6 separate regions of the Homo sapiens genome follow, and all the other regions are linked to region 1. Evidence: promoter capture Hi-C in human tissues and cell types (Jung and others, 2019). All regions are on one chromosome and are shown on one strand. The core of a region is centred on a gene start or on the middle of the fragment in contact, and the rest is flanking DNA. Distances in the headings are between cores, read along the strand shown.

Region 1 (2,700 bases), core at 89-2,588:
TTTTTTTTTTACTGTGTCCCAGGCTTCTTTATTTAAGAAAAAAGTGATACATGATGTGGGATTAAAATCAAGAGCATCATTGAACTTCACCTTCCCTCCAACCAGTTGCCCCAAACTCCCCTGCCCCCACCCTTAGTGTTCCCAATTCCTTCCTTAGTGAATGAAGAACTTAATCCCAAAAGCCCTGCCACAAACTCCAGGTTCTCTTTCCCTAGCTCCTCCCCTCCCCTGTTCCCCATTCCTAGAAGGGCAGGCACCTCAGTTTGAATGCATGGGAGAGCCCAGAGTGATGACGGAGACTGGGGGAAAGACTTCCCCCTCAGGGAAAGGGACTGAGGAGTACAGTGCAGTGAAGTGAGGGCTCCCATAGCCTGGGGTACCAAAATGGGGCCCTGGGGCCGGAGGAAAGGACACTGGTCCCCCTGAGAAAGGAGACCCAGCAGCCTCAAAATCCTCTCGTTGTGCATAGTCGCTGCTTGATCGCTTGCCCTTCTGGCGCCGGTTACAGAACCACACTCGGACCACATCCTTCTCGAGCCCAAGCTGCTGGGCGATGTGGCTGATCTGCAGTGTGGGTTTCGGGCACTGCAGGAACAAATTCTCCAGGTTGCCTCTCACTCGGTTCTCGATACTGGTTCGCTTTCTCTTTCGGGCCTGCATGAGGGTTTCTGCTTTGCATATCTCCTGAAGATTTTCATTGTTGTCAGCTTCCTCCACCCACTTCTGCAGCAAGGGCCGCAGCTTACACATGTTCTTGAAGCTAAGCTGCAGAGCCTCAAAGCGGCAGATGGTCTTTTGGCTGAACACCTTCCCAAATAGAACCCCCAGGATGAGCCCCACATCGGCCTGTGTATATCCCAGGGTGATCCTCTTCTGCTTCAGGAGCTTGGCAAATTGCTCGAGTTCTTTCTGCAGAGCTTTGATGTCCTGGGACTTCTCCGGGTTTTGCTCTAGCTTCTCCTTCTCCAGCTTCACGGCACCAGGGGGGACGGTGCAGGGTTCCGGGGAGGCCCCATTGGAGTTGCTCTCCACCCCGACTCCTGCTTCGCTCTCAGGCTGAGAGGTCTCCAAGCCGCCTTGGGGCACTAGCCCCACTCCAACCTGAGGCCCACAGTACGCCATCCCCCCACATAACTCATACGGCGGGGGGCAAGGGGGAATCCCCCACACCTCAGAGCCTGGCCCAACCCCCGGCCCGATTCCTGGCCCTCCAGGAGGGCCTTGGAAGCTTAGCCAGGTCAGAGGATCAACCCAGCCCGGCTCCGCCCCCCATGGCCCATCACCCCCACCGCCTGGAGGGGGCGAGAAGGCGAAATCCGAAGCCAGGTGTCCCGCCATGGGGAAGGAAGGCGCCCCAAGCCGGGGGCCTGGTGAAATGAGCAATTATGTTACTTTTCATTGAAAGCTCTGTGACCGTATGGCTGTGTGTGTCATACGCTCACTAGCAATGAACACAGTGCCTGAAGCATCATTAAATGTTGACTGAATGTGTTAGGAACTCTTCAAAAGTAATCTCTTTAAATCATAATCACCTGTGAATTGACAATTATTATCTTCACTTTGTGGATAAGAATGCCAAGATTTGGAAATGTTGAATAATGTGTCCATTGTGTCAGTGGCCGATCTGAAATTCCAGTGTAGGCACCATGATTCCTGAGTCCATTCTGCTTCTGCCATACCATGATGCTAGATTCTTCATGGGAGCCATCTACTTGTGTTCTGTGCTATGGAATGGTGTGTCCTTCTTTCTGATTCTTATTTCCTGCAGATTGTGGGGAAACGGTTCTACCATTAACAACCAAAGGCAAAATGGGCTGCAACCAAAGAAATTCCCTGACCTAATTCTTTATAGTTGGTGACAAGTGTGCTGTAGTGACGGGAAATAGCACTCTATGAAGATTTAATAGTGCAAATTCTACCCTCCTGACAACCCCTTTCTTCAGCACTGGATGGGTGTATTAGTTGTTTATCATTGTGTAATAGATCACCTCAAAACTTAATAGCTTAAAAACAACTAACACATAGCTCACAGTTTTGTAAAATAGCAATTGTGGTGTGGCTTAACTGGGTATCCTGGATAAGGGTATTTCATGAGGTTGTGGTCAAGATGAGAGCAGGGGATGTTGTCATCTGGGAGCCTAACGGGGGCTGGAGGATCCACTTTCCAAAATGTCTCACTTACTTGGCTGTTGGCAAAGGCCCCGGTTTCTTGTTGGCTGTTGGTAGGAGGCCTCAGTTGCTCACCATGTGGGCTTTTCCATAAAGCTGCTTGAGTGTCCTCACAACATGTCAGCTGGATTCACCCAGAGAGAATGACCTAAGAAAGAGAGAGCAGGGAAGAAGCCACTGCGTTCTTTATGACCTAGTCTCTGAAATCGCACACTTTTACTTGTGCCATATTTTATTCATTAGAAGTGAGTCACATTCTGTAGGAGGGTAATTAGCCTTCACCATTTGGCAGGAGGACTATCAAATAATTGGTGGGCATATTGTAAAGCTATCATAATGGTTCTGGTAGGCCATGTTTTTGCCTCTGCCACTCAAATATTGGATGTCCATTTCTTAAAGGGATTGTGAAAAGAGAAGGGGCTTTAGAATAAGACAGGCAAATGTTTAAACATTGAGTAAATTTTTAATGTCCTTAACCCTTGTTTCTCAACCATAAAATGAGAATGATCATATCAAATCTTCACAGTTTTG
Region 2 (2,700 bases), core at 75-2,574, 140 kb before region 1:
AGATAGAAAGTGACATACATAACAATGGCAACAGAGGGACAAGAGAAGTCATGAGATATATTAGGGTTCCCTAGAGGGACAGAAATAATAGAATATAAATATATATATATGGGAGTTTATTAAGTATTAACTCACACAATCACAAAGTTCCACAATAGGCTGTCTGCAAGCTTGAGGAGCAAGGAGAGCCAGTCCATGTCTCAAAAATGAAGAACTTGGAGTCCGATGTTTGAGGGCAGGAAGCATCCAGCATGGGAGAAAGATGTAGGCTGAGAGGCTAGGCCAGTCTCACCTTTTCACATTTTTCTGCTTGCTTTATATTCACCAGCAGCTGATTAGATTGTGCCCACTAGGTTAAGGGTGGGTCTGCCTTCCCCAGCCCACTGACTCAAATGTTAGTCTCCTTTGGCAACACCCTCACAGGCACACCCAGGATCAGTACTTTGCATCCTTGAACCCAATCAAGTTGACACTCAGTATTAACCATCACAGGAGATGCTACACTGTTGGTTTTGAAGACAGAGAAAGGTGCTACAATCTAAGGAATGCAGGTGGCCTCTAGGAACTGGAAAGGCAAGGAAATAAAATAGATTATTTCTTAGAGTCTCTAGAAGGAATAAAGCCCTGCTGACATCTCATCTTGACTTTAGCCCAGTGAAACCCATTTGGACTTCTGACTTCTAAAACTGTGGTATAATAAATTTATGTCGCTGTAAGCAACTAAATTTATGATGATTTGTTACAGCAGTAATAGAAAACAAGTACAATAATCTACCTAAGAAAAATCTACGTAGCATTTGGTGGTCATGGAAAACGAATTAAATCCTGGTTCTGTCTCTTACTAACTGTGGGACCAAAGACAGGTTATTTGATCTCTATAGTACTAGTTTTTTCCAACTATAAAATGAGGAAAAGAGAACCTATTACATCTCAGATAAAATTGGGCTACTCTGGTTTCCTCCCACCACATGTTACAGTTGAAAGACCCAGCCACCTGCATGACCAGTCATCTCAGAAATACTATAGGGAATTTCATTCTTAACACGCAGCACATTTTTTCAAAATGTCTTTACTAATTTCTTTCTTTGTTTCTGTCATTTTTCTTTCTTTCTCCCCTCTCTCTCTCTGTCTCTCTCTCTGTCTCTCTCTCTGTCTCTCTCTCTCTCTCTCTCTCTGTGTGTGTGTGTGTTTGTGTTTAATAGGATGTTAAAAATGAGACCATTTCTGTCTCTCTGACTTCAGCAAGAAAAATCAATAAAGAAAGAACCTCTGTCTTCCAAGGGAAGTGCTACCCCATCTTGACGGGCCTTGCAATGGGAAGGCTGAAAATCAGAATATTGGGTCATCACCTACCTTTAGAGAGTCAAACTAGAGCCCACAGGCTGAATCCTGCCTGCTATCTGTTTTCATAAATAAAGTTATATTGGAACACAGCCACACCCATTTGCTTAAGCATAGCCCATTGCTCTTTTCTTTTTTAAAAACAATGCAGAGTTGAGAATTGCTACTGAGACTGTTTTGCCTGCAAAGCTTAAATAATTTACTATCAGGCCTTTTACAGAAAAGCTTTGCTGACTACTGCTTTAGGATTTAAAATAGCTGATCTAACAAGACGATGTGTGGGGCCGGGTTGTGGAGTTCTGTAGAAATTTCCTTCCCACCCCCTGCATGGTGAGAGTGGCTTCAAGGACCACTTAAAGAGTTTGATATTCACCCCCTAGGGTTTAGGGAACCCAGTGGACAGTTATTTGACTTTTCCTGAGAAATCTGAATAGCAACTCTGTGGCTTCTTCATTGGGGCTGCATAGAAGAGAGAAAGGACTGACATTTGCGGTGAATATTTCCATCAATTGTGGTACTAAAATTTGCTGGGGTCTCTCTCATGAGCAGAAATGAGATGAAGCTCATGTGGTCTTCCCAGAGGTTAAATGGGACACCAAAAAGAAAGTGTCTCTATGAAGTGGACCACCAAATGCCAAGGTTGAGGGTTGATGTTAGAGGCAATCCCAGGAGAAAAAACAGTGACTATGAGAAAATAAGTTAAAGTTCCTGGTGGGGAATCTCTGAGAAAAGTTTCAAAGCACCTCTTGGAAGAAACAGTCAGCCTTTACTACCTCCAGTTCTGGAGAGCACCAAAGCTGGATAGTGACAGTACCAATTGACCAGGTGTCCACATTCTCCTCTAATTCCTCTTTCCATAAGCCTAACTCTGGAATAGTCAGGATCCAAGTCTGGCTCTTTAGGGGGAGATAAAGCAGAAAGGCAAGTTGGGCCACAAAATAGAGCAAATATCCACAGCATCTTACAGGATCCGAGGTCTGCATCTTCCCTGAGCCTGGGAGAGGTGAGAAGTTCCAACTCTGAATGAAGCCCAAAGAAGAATCATTGTCTTGACTTAGGCACAATAATTTTTTTTTTTCATTTCATTGTGCATTGAATGAATATGTTCATTTTCTTTTATTTATTTTATTTTTTTGATATATTTCATGTTCTAGGGTACATGTGTACAACGCGCAGGTTTGTTACTTATGTATGCATGCGCCATGTTGGTGTGCTGCACCCATTAACTCGTCATTTACATTAGGCATATCTCTTAATGTTATCTCCCCCTCACCCACCCCATGACAGGCCCCAGTGTGTGATGTTCCCGTTCCTGTGTCCAAGTGTTCTCATTGTTGAATTCCCACCTGTGAGTGAGAA
Region 3 (2,700 bases), core at 72-2,571, 240 kb before region 1:
ACATTGGGTTGGTTTTAAATGTATTCATCTCTTGTCATACCAGTTACTGGCACTGTTTTTAAGCTCGTGTGTGTGTGTGTGTGTGTGTGTGTGTGTGTGTGTGTGTGTATTGTGTGTTATTTTCTAAGTAAGTAATTAAATTTTTAGAATCATACAGCTCTCTGTGTAGAACAGCTTTGTGCAAATACTTTGAATTTTATTCCAGTTTATAGCACATCAATTTGTTTTCAGCATTTTCTCAGTCTACTTTCCATCTGCCTGAACTCTGGTAGACTGAAGTCCAGTTTTGGGTGATAAAGTGATTAGCAGCATTTGTCTGCTCTTAGAGCACTTGGGATTCAAGTCTCCCCTATATCTCTTCTTCTGTATCTCATTGCTTTTGTTTTTTTTCCCCCATCTTGACACTTTTTCAGTATATCAGGAATCTTTCTTCATATATATATGTTTTTTAAGACAGAGTTTCACTCTTGTTGCCCAGGCTGGAGTGCAATGGCGTGATCTCGGCTCACCACAACCTCCACCTCCCAGGTTCAAGCAATTCTCCTGCCTCAGCCTCCCGAGTAGCTGGGATTACAGGCACCCACCACCACTCTCAGCTAATTTTGTATTTTTAGTAGAGACGGGGTTTCTCCATGTTGGTCAGGCTGGTCTTGAACTCCCTACCTCAGGTGATCTGCCCACCTCGGCCTCCCAAAGTGCTGGGATTACAGTGTTGAGCCACCATGCCCGGCCGCATCTTTCTTTTTAAATCAACTTTACTGAGGTATAATGGACACACAGTAAGCTGATGTATTTAAAGTATACGATTTGGTGTTTTTACATATGTATACATCCACAAATCCATCCCCACAATCAAGATAATGAACATATCTATCACCCCCAAAAGCATCCTGTGTCCCTTTGTAGTGACTTCTGTTGTTGCACCCTTTCCCCACCATATGTTAGTTTACATTTTGTAAAATCTTATATAAATGGAAGCATACAGAGTGAACTCTTTTTGTCTGGCTCTTTTACTTATTTCTGAGTTGGTATTTCATTGTACGGATATACCACAATACATTTATTCATTCGCCCAGGGATAGACATGTGGTTGCTTTTAGCTTTTGAATATGACAAATAAAGTGTCTATAAGCATTCACGTAGAAGTCTTTGCATGGACATATGTTTCCTTTTTTAAAAAAATTATTTATTTATTTTTTAAGATGGAGTCTTGCTCTTATCACCCAGGCTGAAGTGCAGTGGCATGATCTCAGCTTACTGCAACCTCCGCCTCCAGGGGTTTCAGTGACTTTCCTGTCTCAGCCTCTTGAGTAGCTGAGATTACTGATGTGCACCACCATGCCCAGCTAATTTTTGTATTTTTAGTAGAGACGGGGTTTCATCATGTTAGCCACGGTGGTCTCAAACTCCTGACAGGTGATCCACCTGCCTAGGCCTCCCAAAGTGCTGGTATTACAGGTATGAGCCACCATGTCTGGCCCTGTTTTCAGTTTTTTTTTTTGTTTGTAAATATCTAGAAGAATGGCTGGATGATGAGGTAGGTATGTATTTAACTTTTAAAGAAGCTGCCAAACTGTTTTCCAAAGTGATGGTGCCGTTTTAACATTCCCAGCAGCAGCATATGAAAGGTCTAATTGCTTCACATCTTTGCCAACACTTTGTGTGGTCAGACTTTTTAATTTTAGCTTTCCTAATACATGTGTAGCGGCATCTCACTGTGTTAGCGTACATTTCCTAATGATTAATGATGTTGATCTTTTTTTTTTTTTTTTTTTTCTGAGACAGTCTTACTCTGTCATGAGGCTGGAGTGCAGTGGTACAGTCTTGACTCACTGTGACCTTGACCTCCCAGGCTCAGGAGATCCTGCTACCTTAACCTCTTGTGTAGCTGAGACTACAGGCACGTGCCATCATGCCTGTAGTATTTTTTGTATTTTTCGTAGAGACGAGGTTTTGTCATGTTGCCCAAGCTAGTCTCAAACTCCTGAGCTTAAGCAATTTGCCCACCTTGGCCTCCCAAAGTGCTGAGATTACAGGTGTGAGTCACTGCACCTGGCCTAGCATATTTTATGTGCTTATGTGCCATCCACATATCTTCTTTGTTGGAGTATCTGTTTAAATCATGTTTAAATCTTTTGCCAATTTCTTATTGAGTTTTTAATTTTCTTATTGTTGAGTTTTGAGGATTCTTCATATATTCTAGATATAAATTCTTTTTCAGATATGTCACTTATAAGGACTTTCTTTCAGTCTGTGCTTGTATCTTTTGATAAGTGGATTTTTTTTTCTTCAGACAGAATATTGCTGTGTTGCCCAGGCTGGAGTGCAGTGGTTTGATCTCAGCTCACTGCAACCTCCGCCTCCTGGGTCCAAGTGATTCTTGTGCCTCAGCCTCCTGACTAGCTGAGACTACAGGCATGCATAGGCATACCCAGCTAATGTTTGCATTTTTAGTAGAGACAGAGTTTTGCCATGTTGGCCAGGCTGGTCTTAAACTCCTGGTCTGAAGTGATCCACCTGACTGGCCTCCTAAAGTGCTGGGATTACAGGCCTGAGCCACTGTGCCCAGAAGAAGTGCTAATTTTGATGAAGTTCCATTTATCATTCTATTTTTTTAATGCTTTTGCATCATATGTAAGAAATCTTTGCAAAACCCAAGGTCATGAAGATTTTCTCCTGTTTTCTTCTATAGGTTTTAGA
Region 4 (2,700 bases), core at 22-2,521, 210 kb after region 1:
GTTTTCCACAGCTATAGACTTGGCTACAATGCAGATTTTATGTTCATGCTGGTTAGTTGAGGCGGCATGTGTGATACAGAAAGAGAATTATCCTCTGCTGTCAGAGACCTGCAGCCTGGTCCCTGGAGCTGACCTTTGGACCAGAAGAGGATGCCTGAACACCTTTGGGCCTTAGTTGTCCGGTTCCAAAACTGACATCATAACCCATCACCTGCTACTAGTCAGACACTGACTCAGATGTCCTCTTGACCTTCTTTCCAGCTCCTAACTCTGGAATTCCATGATTCATCAATAACATCTGATCAGATTTCAGCAGCGAGGGTCTTGCTCACTTGCCATTCAGAATTAATGAAATGCAGTGATGCAGCCAACACGAACAAAAGGAGAGCCCCTCTCTCCCTTAGGAAACTCACGCAGATCACATGACCCTACCTGGTGATCTGTGAGAACTATATCCCCATGTGAGATGGTACCTACCATTTCCTCCCTCTCCCCCAACCCTTATTTCCTCCAGTGCCTTTGTTTTTTTGTGTGGTAAATGCCTTGTAATGTGCACCATTCTATGTACTGTTTGAAGAAATCTGATATCTGTGGGAAGGAAACAAAACTCTATTTGCTATGCTTCAGTCACCAAAAAAAGGTACTAAAATAGCTAAAAATGTCAGTTCACAAGTAGAAATATTCAAATAGATATTTTTCTTTTAGATCATAGTTCTGGTTTCTGTTTTCAATGGGGATTTCATGGGGGAAAATATTTCACCTTGAGAGCTGGACATTTTAAGACACAAAATGTGAGGACGCCCACATATCTCTTCATTGTTGTCATAATTTCCCAGCTAGGTTCAGAATGCAAAGGTGATTTTTTGAACGTGTCATGTGCAGGTTATTCCTTTCTAAGTACAGGATGTAGTGAGTAAGAAAGCTGATTCTAACTAACCTTCTTAGAGAGAAGGAAAAAGAAAGCTAATAACTCTTCTATTTGACTGTTTAAATTTTCCTTTTCTAGATAAATATGTTCTGATAGGTGATTTTCTTGTCCACAGCTCTGTATGGCTAAGCGTTTTCTCCTAAAATCCCTTGAAAACTGTGAGAAGACCATAAGAAGATCATATCTTTAATTCTATTTCACAAGTCACACAATATTCCAATCAAATACAGATGGTTGAGAAAAGTCATCCATCTTCCCTCCCCACCCTCCCACAGCCCCTCAACCACTGCCCTGAAACTTATATGCTGTTATCCGCAGCTCCATCTGGAGCATCACAGCTACTGTCAACCCTGACGCTCTTTCTGAAAAAACACCGGATGGACATCAGAACTATTTCTTTAAGGATGTTACTGAGCCACACAGGAAAACTTGCCTTATGATTTTGAATGCACGGATCTGATTTGACTAAACATGATAACTAGAGAATCACCCAATCTACTCCCATTTTCAACTCTAAATCATCAGAGTGTCTCAAATCCAAAGCACACACAGACCAGCCTGGCCAACACGGTGAAACTCCACCCCTACTAAAAGTATAAAAATTATCCAGGTGTGGTGGCGGGCGCCTGTAATCCAAGCTACTTGGGAGTCTGGAGGCAGGAGAATCCCTTGAACCTGGGAGATGGAGGTTGCAGTGAGCAGAGATCACACCACCGCACTCTAGCCTGGGCCACAAATCAACAACAACAACAACAACAAAAAACAAAGCGCACACAGAGACTGAGGTCCTCTTTGGCATTGAGAAGATGGCTATGCAAGTCCCAACTAGCAAGTGCAAACTTCCCAGCTTCACTTCTGCCAGTGTCCCTTCACCCCTTCTCAACCCCACTGGGAGGCAGGAGGGTGCTTGACAATAACAGCCTTGGCATCACTCTGCCAGGGTGTAATAGGAACTGTTACAATTCTGAGATTCTGTGTAAGCACTGGCCTTTCTGCCTAGAATGCCTTCTCCTCTCTTTTTTAACTGCATGCTCCTATTTATCTTTCAAAGCCCGGAAAAAATAACACTGCACACGGGAAATGCTCCCTTCCTACTGCAGTCATTTAGATGACTCTATGCCATTCCATTCATTTCTCTTTCCTACCACAGAAGTGCTTTGAGATTTTGGAGTCAGACTGCTTGAACTTGAATCCTGGCCCTCTCATCAGAGACTTGACTTATTTTAGGCAAGTTATATAACCAATTTTACCTCAGTTCCTTACCCATAAAATGGGTCTAATGAGAGTACCTACCACACAGAATTTTGATGAAAACTGAATGAGATGAAGGCCTTTAAGGCAGTGGTCCCCAACCCTGGGGACACAGACAGGTACCATTTTGTGGCCTGTTAGGAACTGGGCCACACAGCAGGAGGTGAGCAGTGGGTGAGTGAGATCAGCGTTATTTACAGCTGCTCCCCATTGCTCACCTTACTGCCTGAGCTCCACCTCCTGTCAGATCAGCAGTGGCATTAAATTCTCATAGCAGCACAAACCCTGTCATGAACTGCACATGCGAGGGATCTAGGTTGTGCGCTCCTTATGAGAATCTAATGCCTAATGACCTGTCACCGTCTCCCATCACCCCTAGATGGGAGTGTCTAGTTGCAGGAAACAAGCTCAGGGCTTCCACTGATTCTACATTATGGTGAGTTGTATAATTATTTCATTATATAATACAATGTAATAATAATAGAAACACAGTGCACAACAAATGTAATGTGCTTGAATCA
Region 5 (2,700 bases), core at 85-2,584, 170 kb before region 1:
AGTCTCACTCTGTTGCCCAGGCTGGAGTGCAGTGGTGCAATTTTGGCTCACTGCAACCTCTGCCTCCCAGATTCAAGCAATTCTCTGCCTCAGCCTCCAGAGTAGCTGGGCTTACAGGCAGCCACCACCACGCCTGGCTAATTTTTGGATTTTTAGTAGAGTCAGGGTTTCACCATCTTGGCCAGGCTGGTCTTGAACTCCTGACCTCGTGATCCTCCTGCCTCGGACTCACAAGATGCCGGGATTACAGGTGTGAGCCACTGCACCCGGCCAAGATCTCTGCCTTCATGAAATTTCCATCCTAGTAGTGGAGACAGACAATAAATAAGTGAACAGACAGATACAAAGGTAATTGTAGCTAGTGATGGGTGCCATTGTCCCAATAAAAGGGAATGTAAAAGAATGACTGTATTGTGTGTGTGTGTGTGTGTGTGTTTTATGTGCGTGTGTGTGTAATAGATTGTGCTTTACTGGGTGGCTAGAGAAGGTATTTCTGAGACAATAACCTCTGAGGTGTGACCTGAGTGATCAGAAGGACCAGAAAGGACAAAGGCCTGGAGGTTGGAAGTAGCTTGGTGCACTCAGGAGCAGAGAGAAGCTCAGTGTGGCTGGTGTAGTGAGCAGAGGGACAGAGCACTAGGCAATGAGAGCAGGTAGGGACCAGATCCTACGGGTCCTTGTTGGTCCTGGTAAGGTGGCTGGGTATTATGTGAAGGGCATTGGAACCTACTATCCAATTGCATTGGAGAAGCTGTAGCAAGGAGATGATTTTTGGTTGGGAGGTTGGACTGGTTTCAACTCTGGCATCAGAATCACCTAGGGATCCACATTTGGGATCCAGTGGTCTAAGTGAACTCTAAAATTGCTTTCATGGTGAGGATTTGAGGTAGTGATATGAGCTTCCATATGAGATGATACATTTTGCTCAGGATATCTGAGAATGCATGGCCCACTGGAATTTTGCTAACGTATTATCTACAACCCAGTTCATTAGGGTGGGTGGGCTCTAAATAAGCTTAATTTACTTCAACAATTATTCAGTGGATTATCTTCTATGTGGCAGGCACTAAGTATGCACAAGGGGTAAAGTACCGTGCCTGGAAAACAACAGATACGCCATAAATATTGACTGAATGAATAAATGGATGAAAGTACCAGACATTCTGCTGGGAACCAGGGACAAAGAGATGAGGAAAAGATGTGTGAGAGACATTATAGATGACTCTGTCTTTATTAGCTCATGTGATATGGTTTGGCTGTGTCCCCAACCAAATGTCATCTTGAATTGTAGTTCCCATAATCCTCAAGTGTCATAGGAGGGATTCAGTGGGAGGTAATTGAATCTTGGGGACAGTTACCCCCATGCTGCTGTTCTCATGATAGTGAGTGAATTCTCACGAGATCTGATGGTTTTATAAGGGGCTTTTCCCCCTTTGCTTGGCATTTCTCTCTCCTGACATCACGTAAAGAAGAATGTGTTTGCTTCCCCTTCTGCCACCATTGTAAGTTTCCTGAGGCCTCCCCAGTTCTGTGAAACCGTGTCAATTAAATCTCTTTCTTTTATAAATTGCCCAGTCTTGGGCAGTTCTTTATAACAACGTGAGAATGGAATAATACATCGGGGAGGAGAATTGCAATAGCAGTGTTTGCAAACTGCTAATGGAAGGGTAAAAAGATGGAAAATGTAAGGGAAAGGCATATGTGTTTGAGTTTGGAAGAAGAATACCACAGGGTGTTCCTGCAAAAGGCAAAATGCAGAGACAATGCTGGGAGCATTTGTAAAATCTGAATTCTTCACTTCCAGTCTGTTGGGTTCTGGCTTCCGGTGTCACAGGGGAGTCTGCTTTTGATTTTATAGGGACAACAGAGAAAACATTGGCTGGTCAGGAACAGGAACTTTAAGGCTGCTCAGGAAGATCAAGCAGCTTGGACACATGGCCTTCTGGTTTTCTCCTTTGATCAGGGAAAACAGGGAGGATTCTGCCAAAAAGCTCACCAGAACTTTCACGTCTACCAGCTTTTGTAGCCTGCCAAATCTCTGTGTGCTGCAGTTTGTGTTAACCTAGTCAAATTACCATCAAGTAGCCCGAAGCCACAGCCAAATCGGCCTCACCGTTTTTCCTCACCCTAATTTAATCATCTGGGAGTGGATTTCTGGAATTGCCTCTAATCTAGCGAACACATATCTAAGACTCTAAACTAAACAATTAACCCTTTCCTGGGACCAACAAACCTTTGGTAGAAGGTACACTTTTGGTGTCTGCAATTTGATTTAAACTTTTTGTAACTTCTGGGAGGAGGGGAAGGAGAAGGAATTTGAGTCTTCCTTATTATGGTGCAGAGACTGCTAGATGTTAATATTCATGACTTCTGCACACCAGTTCTGTGAGATAAGTATTATTAACTCCATTCTAAGCACAGGAACACAGAGCTTCAGAAGGATTAAGGAACGTGGTCAGGGCCACACAGCTTAATAAGTGGCAAGATTTGATTCCAAGCCTATCACCAAGACCCAGGCTTTCCCCCATAAAACTCTTTCTGCTCCAGAACTGTTTAGTAAGCAATAGCTACATTTTATACATCTTGAAAATTTCCAGTGCTTAGAAATGGAGCAATGCCATTCTTGGGTGCTTATGCCCCAGGGTAGGCATTCTTTATCTTGGCTGCCCATTGGAAACAGAGTTGAGATGAGGATTAAAG
Region 6 (2,700 bases), core at 145-2,644, 190 kb after region 1:
GTAGGTTTTAGATTATTGCACTGGATATTAACATTTTAATTCTTCCAATTTGTTGGATACTTAGCCGAACAATTTATATTGAAAATAACAAGAGATTTTAAAATCATGTATATCTGACTTACCCTTTGGCTTGGAGAAACAGACACAGGTCAATTATAGATTATTCATTTGTTATTTTAATTAAATTATATGGACTGTGGCTTGCTAATGCTCAAGACAGAAAATGAAAGTGTTTTCTGCCCTTTTCCCTACACTAAGGGATTATTGAGATAATGACCTAATAGTCTGGGTTGTGTATATGTCAGAAAAACTTCATTTTATTAATAAGTGATACTACAGATACTGCCCATTTATTATATTGATAGCAGCTGTGGATATGAGAAGAGTGGACCTATATATGTCCATATATAGGTATAACCAATATATATGTATAACATATATATGTCCATATATATGTATAACCAAACCACAGGTGTTTTTTTGGAAGTCATATTATACAGGGAGTTGACAGAGGTGTGAGCTGGACTTTAAGAAGCTGCACATAAGATGCTAGTATGATCAAGCTGGAATGGACTTAGACAATTTGAAACAACTTTTCTCAGTTTTCAGATGAGGAAACTGACGGGTACCAAGCTTAAATGACTTGACGAAGCTCATAGAAGATTAGCAGGTAGTAGAATAATGACTGCTGACTCCTAATTCAGTGGATCTTCCCTGGCCACCGTTTTGTATTGAGCTGCAATGCTTCCTTGACTGTTCTCCATGCCAGATTCTTATCAATGATCTTTCACCTAAGAAACAGCAAAGATTCTGGCAAGCACACGATCTAGAGATACATCTTATTGCGATTTTTCACAAAAATCAAAAGAAGAAAGAAGGCTTAGCTGGTGTTTAATTATTGTTATTTTTTTCAATAGGGAAATCTGTACACAATGATTTATCTCCAGTGATTTGCCATTGATCAATTTTTTTCTCATTTCATTTTCTATTTTTTTGTTTTTTGTTTTTCTTTATTTTTTATTTTTTTCTCCTTTTTCTTTTTTTAAATTTTCTGTTTATCACAAATGATCATGTAATTATATGTTAATACTATGTAACCCCAGTGTTTTCAACTGTTTGTGATTCAATGTTACCCAGTTTTCTTTTCTTAATTTTAAATAAATTTGAAAAATTATCTTAGAGTGTTTTGAGCCTGTGTTGGTACATTTAGTTCTAGTTCATTGTGGTAAATCCACTTCAGTTTCTAAGTTTCCACCCTTTAGTAAAGACATATTTCTAAATTTGGTTTATATCCTCAGTTACAAAAGATTCTAACTGCTAGTTTTGTGACAGCAATCACACATACCATCAAGGGATGGGGCAGGCAGTTTTGGAATGTGCTGATGCTAGCATTTTTATAAGCCTATGGCTTTTATAGTCTAAATTGTTCTTATTTCTATTAATGCTTCAATTTTTGACAAACACACAACCATAGAAACAAATAATAAATTTGTTTTTTGGGAATTATCCAGGATTCTTGGTTAAGTGGGGAATTTAGGCTTTGACAGCATAAAGGATCACGGATAAGTATTTTTCACGGTGGCTCTAATTATAATGCTGAGCATGTGGCAGGCACAGAAATATTTACTCATTGACTGAATATAGCACATCGTAATGTTGATTTTTTTCCAACATAATTTTAGAGCTAGGCATATTGTATTCTATTACACTAGACTATATATCATTCTTAAATAGAACCAGCCTTGCTAGATAACACATGTTGGAGGAGAGGCCCTTCTTCTTAGCCCTCAGTGTTTCCATCTATGGGGAAGAAGTTCCACCATACTAACATTACTATCGTCTCTCCACCTGCTCACTCACTTCTCCCCAAGGGAGGGGTGTTCGATATGGTTTCTGAGCTTGGAAAGAAAACTCAGGCATGTGTAACATGGTTCCTTCAGTCCCATGACCCACTGTCCACAAATGGGCTGCTCACAGAGTGCATGCCTTCACCCTTGTTCCTGGCCATGCAGGAAATTGTATGAAACAGTCCTAGCTGAAGCCTGAGATTTTCCTGCATTGCCTAGTCCTGGTGGGTATCTGTCTACTCCTGGAGTTTGGATTGGAAAGTCCACATGCCTGAAGGTATAAACCTATTCTACAAAGGGGTGTTTTCTAGAATGAAGGTAATATTTTTATCTTACATTTGCAGAAAGAGACAGAACAATGTTATAGGTGAGTGCATGGACAATGACCTCAAACAGCTAAGATTCAAACCCCTGCGTTGAATGATTGAATTGAAATGATTCAATGAGCTAATGTACATAAAGCATCCAGAATGTTGCCTGGCACAAGGTAAATGCTCTACAAATGTCTGATATTAATGTTAGCCTTTTGTTTCCCCGTTCAGTTGGTTCAGAACGTAGACATTATGTACTGGCTCTGCCTCACACCTCAATAACAGAGATTTCTTAAAGAATAACTTATAAACTCTTTTCAACTTCAAATCACTCCGTGATTAGGCTTATCTTATACCTTACTAGTTCTTAGCACCAGAATTATTTTTCCAATTGTAGAACTAATCATGTTTCTCTGAAATTCTTAATTCGTGCAGACCTCTCAGTGGGGCTTCAAACTCTCACAGTCAGACCTCAGCATACGTTTCCAGCCTTGTCTTCCTTACACACTGTGCTTTGGCACGAGTCTACCATTGCTCACGGT

Evidence for each region. The method cuts DNA at HindIII sites, captures the fragments that hold promoters and counts their contacts. A contact is called where the count stands out against the background at its distance.
Region 2: a contact is called between a fragment that was not itself captured here and the fragment with the promoter of POU5F1B in region 1, in 2 of the 25 tissues and cell types used here (mesendoderm cells and spleen).
Region 3: a contact is called between a fragment that was not itself captured here and the fragment with the promoter of POU5F1B in region 1, in 1 of the 25 tissues and cell types used here (mesendoderm cells).
Region 4: a contact is called between a fragment that was not itself captured here and the fragment with the promoter of POU5F1B in region 1, in 1 of the 25 tissues and cell types used here (mesendoderm cells).
Region 5: a fragment that was not itself captured here is called in contact with the fragment with the promoter of POU5F1B in region 1 in 1 of the 25 tissues and cell types used here (liver).
Region 6: a contact is called between a fragment that was not itself captured here and the fragment with the promoter of POU5F1B in region 1, in 1 of the 25 tissues and cell types used here (aorta).

Annotation. Positions count from the first base shown.
Region 1 is chr8:127,414,505-127,417,204 of GRCh38, reverse strand. POU5F1B (POU class 5 homeobox 1B) reads right to left here and starts at 1,338. Exons shown (of 1, transcript NM_001159542.3): 1 at 259-1,338. The coding sequence starts at 1,338. The coding sequence ends at 259. The region is part of intron 5 of CASC8 (cancer susceptibility 8); the gene reads left to right. The HindIII fragment of the contact is 11,415 bases long and covers 1-2,700 here.
Region 2 is chr8:127,555,573-127,558,272 of GRCh38, reverse strand. No RefSeq gene overlaps it. Among named protein-coding and RNA genes, the nearest start is that of CASC8, 75 kb to the right of the region's middle. The HindIII fragment of the contact is 4,006 bases long and covers 1-2,700 here.
Region 3 is chr8:127,654,813-127,657,512 of GRCh38, reverse strand. No RefSeq gene overlaps it. Among named protein-coding and RNA genes, the nearest start is that of CASC11, 78 kb to the left of the region's middle. The HindIII fragment of the contact is 8,143 bases long and covers 1-2,700 here.
Region 4 is chr8:127,208,061-127,210,760 of GRCh38, reverse strand. CCAT1 (colon cancer associated transcript 1) reads left to right here. Exons shown (of 2, transcript NR_108049.1): 2 at 1,044-2,700. Among named protein-coding and RNA genes, the nearest start is that of CCAT1, 9.9 kb to the left of the region's middle. RefSeq lists a cis regulatory region at 118-137, enhancers at 1-516, 673-792 and silencers at 1,713-1,852, 2,343-2,532. The HindIII fragment of the contact is 9,493 bases long and covers 1-2,700 here.
Region 5 is chr8:127,583,110-127,585,809 of GRCh38, reverse strand. No RefSeq gene overlaps it. Among named protein-coding and RNA genes, the nearest start is that of CASC8, 100 kb to the right of the region's middle. The HindIII fragment of the contact is 7,724 bases long and covers 1-2,700 here.
Region 6 is chr8:127,227,033-127,229,732 of GRCh38, reverse strand. No RefSeq gene overlaps it. Among named protein-coding and RNA genes, the nearest start is that of CCAT1, 9.1 kb to the right of the region's middle. The HindIII fragment of the contact is 3,791 bases long and covers 1-2,700 here.